Regions from separate parts of the Homo sapiens genome. Here region 2 is linked to region 1. Evidence: promoter capture Hi-C in 16 types of primary human blood cells and fetal thymus (Javierre and others, 2016). All regions are on one chromosome and are shown on one strand. The core of a region is centred on a gene start or on the middle of the fragment in contact, and the rest is flanking DNA. Distances in the headings are between cores, read along the strand shown. Region 1 holds the start of SMCO3 (single-pass membrane protein with coiled-coil domains 3). Region 2 has its middle 21 kb from the start of LINC01489.

Evidence for each region. Contacts are between HindIII fragments. The CHiCAGO score rates a contact against its expected background, and 5 or more counts as called.
Region 2: a contact is called between a fragment that was not itself captured here and the fragment with the promoter of SMCO3 in region 1, in 1 of 17 cell types (neutrophils). The highest score is 5.6, in neutrophils.

Annotation. Positions count from the first base shown.
Region 1 is chr12:14,812,909-14,816,610 of GRCh38, forward strand. It overlaps SMCO3 (single-pass membrane protein with coiled-coil domains 3), which reads right to left and starts at 1,274. Exons shown (of 2, transcript NM_001013698.2): 1 at 1,218-1,274. The region is part of intron 1 of C12orf60 (chromosome 12 open reading frame 60); the gene reads left to right. The HindIII fragment of the contact is 14,101 bases long and covers 1-3,702 here.
Region 2 is chr12:15,021,075-15,024,550 of GRCh38, forward strand. No RefSeq gene overlaps it. Among named protein-coding and RNA genes, the nearest start is that of LINC01489, 21 kb to the left of the region's middle. The HindIII fragment of the contact is 4,908 bases long and covers 1-3,476 here.

The DNA of each region.
Region 1 (3,702 bases), core at 24-2,523:
TATTGTTGATTTGGGAAGAGTAAGGTTAAATTTCAAAAAGAGAAGTTCTTGCCTATTTGGAAATACATACTGAAAACATTTAAGATGAAATGAAATGGTCTCAGAGATTTGTTCACAAATAATCTGGAAAGAATAGTGGGGTAGGGTTATAGAGGAAAAAAGATTGGCCTTGTTTTGATAATTTTTAAAGCTGAGTTATGGGTACATGGGAGTTTATTATATTATTGTCTCTACTTCTGTGTATGTTTGAACTTTTCTTATAACAAATAAAAAAGAAAGAAAAAGAAAAACGTGACCCTGTCTAAACCTCTGATGTTTAGTCGTTAGTGCTCTCTGAGGTTTTACATTTCTTCTTGCTGTCACTTTTCTTCACTGTCCAAACAGGGTTTTGCCATCATGCACAGTTTCCTTATCTGGGAGTGTGGAAATAGGGTATAGGTAAAATCAGGAGCTTTTCAGAAGAAAATAACAGCTTCTAACTAGTTCTGAGTCTCCTTTAATTCAAATAAAAATCTGTGGCCTTTAATTAAAACAAAAATTGATCATGATGTGATGATATACTTTCTGATATAAATTCATTTAAAAAATGTTTCTGACCAGAAAGAAGAATATTAAAGTCATTCATCAGCATTTATCAAGTGCTCACTGGTGAAGCCTCTACTGTGTCCCTTGAGGCATTTGAAAACGACAATGTTCCTTGCCCTCAAGACGATAACAGCCTGTTTGGAGACACACAGCAAATGCTCAGAGATATTTAGATACAACATAATTTATGAAGGAGTATAAGTACTATACATTAACCAGTATTAGATTCCACATTCATTCTTTCATAGATAGGTACTGAGTGCCTATATTAATATTAATGACATAGAAGGAAATGTTACTATCCATGTAAACTTCACACATTCACACAGGTATCATTTCATCCTTAATCCTTCTTAGAATTGATGTCTTTACTGCTTCTCTTCCACTCTGACTTAATCAGTCCTAGAAATTGTTAATTTTCTTCCTTCTCTGCTGTCTTCAGAGAAGGCACCAGGAAAGGTTCCTTCCAAATCACAAGGAACATGTCATGGGATCCTCTTATAACAAAGCTGTTTTTTTACTTTATTTTATTTATGGTTAGGATTCAAGACTGACGGGCTAATTCAAATTCCTCCTACTACTGAGAAACAGAGTATTATATCAATACTAATAGAAATATCCACGTTGCTTACCTTGCTGTGTTTCTGAGTTCCGTGGTCCTAGCAGTTGTTTAGGAGTATTGTTAAAGTGCTTTTTCATCTGGTTTCATCTGGATATTTCTGATGGAATGTGATGACTTACAGACTTTGCTAGTCTCTGCTGGGTCCCTCTGCCTGTCTGGTTTATAGGCTATTTCTACATGGCTTGGCCCTCAGAATTCCTTCATTTCCTATTAATAAAAACTTAGTATACAGTATTAAGTTATATAAACTGGAAGACTAATAGTGTGTAAAACTTATTTTTAAATTTCTGTTCTTTAATGGACTTTTTATTGTTGAGAAGCGCTATATAACTGAGCTAATTCAATTTAGTAGAGAAGATGGCTCTTTGATTGCAGCTCTCAGATTTTGGGGTTTTATCTTGTCAACTATTCCAGATACTAAGTTTCTTTTAGCTTCTGTTGCATTTGCACCTCTAACTGTTGCTGATTATTTAAATTCTCAAGATATATAAATGCAGTTACTTGCATCCAATTTTTTTTTCTCTTCTTTCCAGCTAGGAGTTCTCCTCTTTGTCATTCTTTCTCTTCCTGTGTTTGTAAATTGTCTTGACAATATAAAAACCTTAAAGTCCAACTTCACTCTTTTCCCTGAAAGCTCAGATCAGTCTTCCCTGCTGCTTCTTCCCAGCTTCAGTCTTCAGACCCGTTAATTCCTCCACAGCAAAGACACCTGAGTGGCAGGGAAATCACTCAGCCCCAGTGTAACTTAGTGAAAGACAGCAGGCTTTACACTCAGACAGTCCTGGTTTTGTGTACTCCAAGTACCACTTACTAGTCATGTAATCCTAAGAAAGTCACTTAGCCTGAGTTTTCCCATTGGTGTAATATGAGTATTAGTTAATAATTTATGGATTAAATGGGATAGTGTTTATAAAGTAATTGGCATAGTGGCTGATATGTGGCAAAATCTTATGAAACGGTAGCTATTCATATATTAACAACAGTATCTCCTGGTGGAGGGGAGAGGAGAATGGGTGGGTACAGGATACAGAATCAAAATGCCAGACAGGCAGACAGGAAACTTTAAAATCTAAAGATGCTGCCCTGTGATTCTAAAGAAGGGCTAAGTGGGGTCACTTTTCTACTTTTGTCCCAGTGGATCATCTTGCCCTTGATGTATCCAGGGCCCCACCACGTACGGATGTGTGGCCAGTGTATCTGAACTAGGTATGGATGTTAAGTAGGATTTTAATAGATGTTTGGGGAGGATGGTGGTATAGAGGAAATAATACAGATAGAGGGAACACTGAGAGCAAAGGAGCTGAACCAAAAATTGTAGAACATTTTCAGGGAACAAAAACCAACCTGCTGGTGATACAGGGTGTAAGTGGGAGCAGTTAAGGGAAGGTAAGTCATGGAAAATTGAAAATAGTTTGTAGATAGCCTTAGATGTCATGCTAGGAAATTGTATTTCATTCTGTAGATAATAATGAACCATTAAAAAATCCTTTTAATTATGGTGTAATATTTGGAGATTTGGATTTCAGGAAGGGTACATTATGTAAACTTGATTAGTAGGTATGGACAATAAAGCATAAGTTACCAACCCCATTGCCTACAGTATGTGGACAAAATATGTCTGTCTTTTACCCTGTCTTAAAACAGTTGCATTTTGTTTCCGAAGAGGCTATTGTTGAAGAGTACCATTTAACCCACTTGTTCCTAAGGTGTTTGTTTCTCTCCTATTTCTACCCTTCTTAACATTTATTGCCTACTCATCCACTCCTTTCTCTCCTACCACATAGCAGCCTAAGTGGAGTTGCCAAAATTAAGGATAAACAGTAACAATGCAAAATAATTATCAGAGAAAAACTAGAAGCAATATTGACTTCATACTGAGCCCCCTAATCAACTTGAACTTCTTTTTTCTGCAATCAGTTTCTCAGGTTGAAAACTTGAACTTCTTAAATCTTTCTTGACTACTAAAGCCAGTATTAACGTCAAGTCAATAGTCAGAACTGAACCTTAGGAAGGAGGCACATTTTCTTAGTGTAGATCTTGGAGTCAGGGTGGTTTTAGGGAATCAGGAAGGCTGATTTGACAAGTTTCACTGCTGGATTGACAGTGGTGGGAAATGAGAGTGAAAGCAATAATATCTCCAAACTTATCTGCATGTAGCTCTCACTTGATCGTCTTTTATTTAGAATGCTTTATTTTCCCTTTTATCCTAAAGCTCATCCCCTTCTTTTCCTAAAATCTCTGCTCAAAAACCATATATTACATGACCCTGAATAAACTGCCCGATTCAATTACGATTGTTTCAACAATTTGCCAGCACTTATGAATGCTGCACTTAAAAAAAAATCAAGCAAACCTAAAAATAATCACCTTTTTGACCCAATAGCCTCCTTTATCTTTCTTCTTCACAGTTAGACTTCCCAGTTTGGTAGTGTACATGCATTGCCTCTACTTCATTTTCTCCATTAATTTTCCAGTATTTATAATCTAGCTTCTGT
Region 2 (3,476 bases), core at 281-2,780, 210 kb after region 1:
AATGGCACTTCTCCCCGTACCAATTCCCATCCCATATGCAAAGACTTTTGGCTTCCAGACCATGATATGTATATGTAAATATGTGTATATATGCATGTGTGTATAAATATATATAAAATCTCTGTCTGTATGTATAAACACACATTCATATATATACACACTTCATATACCCACACAGATATATGATAGATATGTATATATAACATAATACATGTATTATCTATATGTGTACTATGTATGTATATATAAAATTTTCGGTAACATGAGGTATAGGGTAGTATTAATTTCTGTGTTTTTGTGTTTACGTAAATTACATGGCAACATAGATACCATTTGATTTTTTACTTTTAATTAACTTTTTAATTTGGAGATTATTATAGATTCATATGCAATAATAAAGAGAGATCCTATATACACTTTAATCAAATTTTCCCAATGGTAATATCTTCTAAAACTATAGTACAATATTGACACCAATATACCAATATATAGTACATTTTAATCACCACAGAGACCTCTCGTGTTGCCTGTTTACAGCCACACCTCCTTCCCTCATACTGTCCCCTACCTTTATCCTCTTCAACAGTTGAAAAAACCATTGATCTGTTCTATATCTCTGTTATTTTGTTATTTTAAGAATGTTGCATAGTATGAACTTATTAAGATTGAATTTTTAAAATCAGTATAATTCTCTGGAAATTAATTCAAGTTGTTGCATGTACCAGTAGTTCATTTATTTTCATGGTTAAGAAACATTCTATGGTATAATAGAGTTTGTTACATCAAAAGACATCTGGGATTTTTCTCCCTTCTTGCTGTTACAAATAGAGCTAATATGACCATTTCTGTGCAGGTTTCTGTGTGAACATAAGTTTTCATCTCTCTGTGATAGATATCAAGGAGTACAAATGCTGGGCTATATGATAGTATCACGTTTAGTTTTTTATTTAACTGCAAACTGTTTTTCAGAGGCCTTTGCCAGATATGTGACTTGCAAATATTTTCTCTGAGTCTGTAACTTGTCCCTTCTGTCATTTTACAGGATATTCGGAGGATCAAAGATCTTAATTTTGATGAGGGCTAATTTATCAGTTTTTCCTCTTACAAATTATACTTTTGGTGTTGAGTCTAAGAAGAAACTTGACTAGTCCCAGGTTCCACGTACTTTCTCTTACGTTCTTTCTATAAATGTTAAAATTTCAGCCAGCTGCAGTGGCTCATGCCTGTATCCTACAGCTTTGGGAGACTAAGGTGGGAGAATCACTTGAGGCCAGGAGTTCAAGACCAGCCTGGGCAAGACAACAAGAACTTACCTTTACAAAACATTTTAGCTGGGAGTGGTGGCACATACCTGTAGTCCTAGCTACTCGAGAGGCTGAGGCAGAAGGATGGCTTGAGCCTAGGAGTTTGAGGTTACAGTGAGCTGTGATCAAGCCACTGTACTCCAACCTGGGTGAGAGAGCAAGACCCTGTTTCTAAAAATAAACAAGTAAATGTTAAAATTTCACATTTTACATTCAAGTTTATGCTTCGTTTTTGTATAAGTTAACTTTATATAAGGTGTGAGATATAGGTCAGGTTTTCTTTATCATCAACGGATGCCCGGTTTCTTCAGCACCATTTATTGAAAAGGCAATTTTTCCTCCATTGAACATTTTCTCCTTTGTCAAGAACTAATTTGGATATATTTGTGTGGGCCGACTTCTGGATTCCCTATTCTAGTCCATTAATCTTTGTGTCTATCTCTCTGTCAGTGTCATACTCTGTTGATTACCTCAGCTATATAGTAAGTCTGAATATCAAGAAGAGTAATTTATCCCACTCCACTTTTATTTTTCAAATTATTTTGAAAAATAAAGGTCTAGGGCCTTTCCCTTTTCATATAAATTTTAGAATAGGCTTGTCATATTCTAAATTGTCTACATGAAACTTGCTGATATTTTGACGGAAATTATGATAAACATATAGATAAATTTAGGGAAATTGATATCTTAATTATGTGGAGTTTTCCAGTCCATGAAAATGGTATGTTCTCACCAAGTATTTAAGTTTTCTTTGATTTTTTCCTCAATATTTTATAATTTTCACTACAGATCCCATACATGTTTTGTTACATTTATACCAAAATATTTCATTTTCTTTTAAGAAATTGTTAATAGTATTACATATTTTAGTTTCCACTTGTTCTTTGTCAATATACAGAAATACATTGAGTTTTGTGCACTAATCATTTATCATAGATTCTGTGACCCTATTAAACTGCTCTGGTGGGGGTGGTTTTTTGGAGATTTCTTGGAACTTTGTATATAGACATGATGTCATTTGCACATAGACATAGATTCATTTATTTCCCAATTTGTATTATTTTTGTTTCTTTTTCATGCTTTGTTACTGCAAAGGCTAAAATTTATAGTACCATGTTAAATAATAGTGATGGAAATAGATATCCTTGCCTTGTTTCTGATCTTAGAGGGAAAGGATTCAACCTTTAACCATTAAGCATGATTTTTGCTGTAGATTATTTGTAGATACTCTTTATAAGGTTGGAATAGTTGCCCTTTATTTCTAGTATACTGAGAGTTTTTATCATATATAGAAGTTAAATGTCGTTTAATGCTCTTTTCTGTGTCAATTGATATGATTATGTAATTTTTCTTCTTTAGTCAGTTGTTTCGATAAATTATGTTGGTTGATTTTTGAATATTGAACATATTTGCATATGTGGAATAAAGTCCACTTGGCCATGATGTATTATGACATTTGGTTAAATTTGTTAAGATTTTATTGAATTCTGCTTTTGACTAGGATATGGGTTACAGATATGTGGAAGCTATGACCAACAGATTTCATTTTTCCTGTCAGGTGTGGACTGCCCTAATTGTGTAAAGGTAAAAGTGATTTTAGGGGTACTGGAAAGGGTCTTACCATAATGTTCTCATGCTTTCTGATGACTAAAAAATTTTAAGAAGGAATAAATTATTTTATTCCACAGTCAGAAATAAACAACTTGAATTTTAAAAATCTATGGGCAAAATAGTATATTGGCACGTTTTATTTAACCCTGGGGGAAGTAGTGATAGACATCTCCAACTTTGGCTACCGTGAACAGCAATGTGTAGAAATGTTGGCTATTTGCCACTCCCCCTTGTCACCCATTATCCCTCCATTTCTCTTCTCTGACTCTTTCTTTCATTTTTCTTTTATTTTAGGTTTAGGTTCAGGGGGTACATGTGGAGGTTTGTTACATGGGTAAATTGAGAGTCATGGGGGCTTGATGTACAGATTATTTCATCACCCAGGTATTAACAGGTTATTTCATCAGCCAGGTAATCCACTATCTGATGGATAGCTTTTCATTCCTCACCCACCTCCAACCCTCCACCCTGCCATTTATTGTTTGCTACTTTGCAGGCCCTGGTGTTTATTGTTCCCTGCTTTGTGTCCACGTATACTAAATAATTAGCTCCCAATTATAA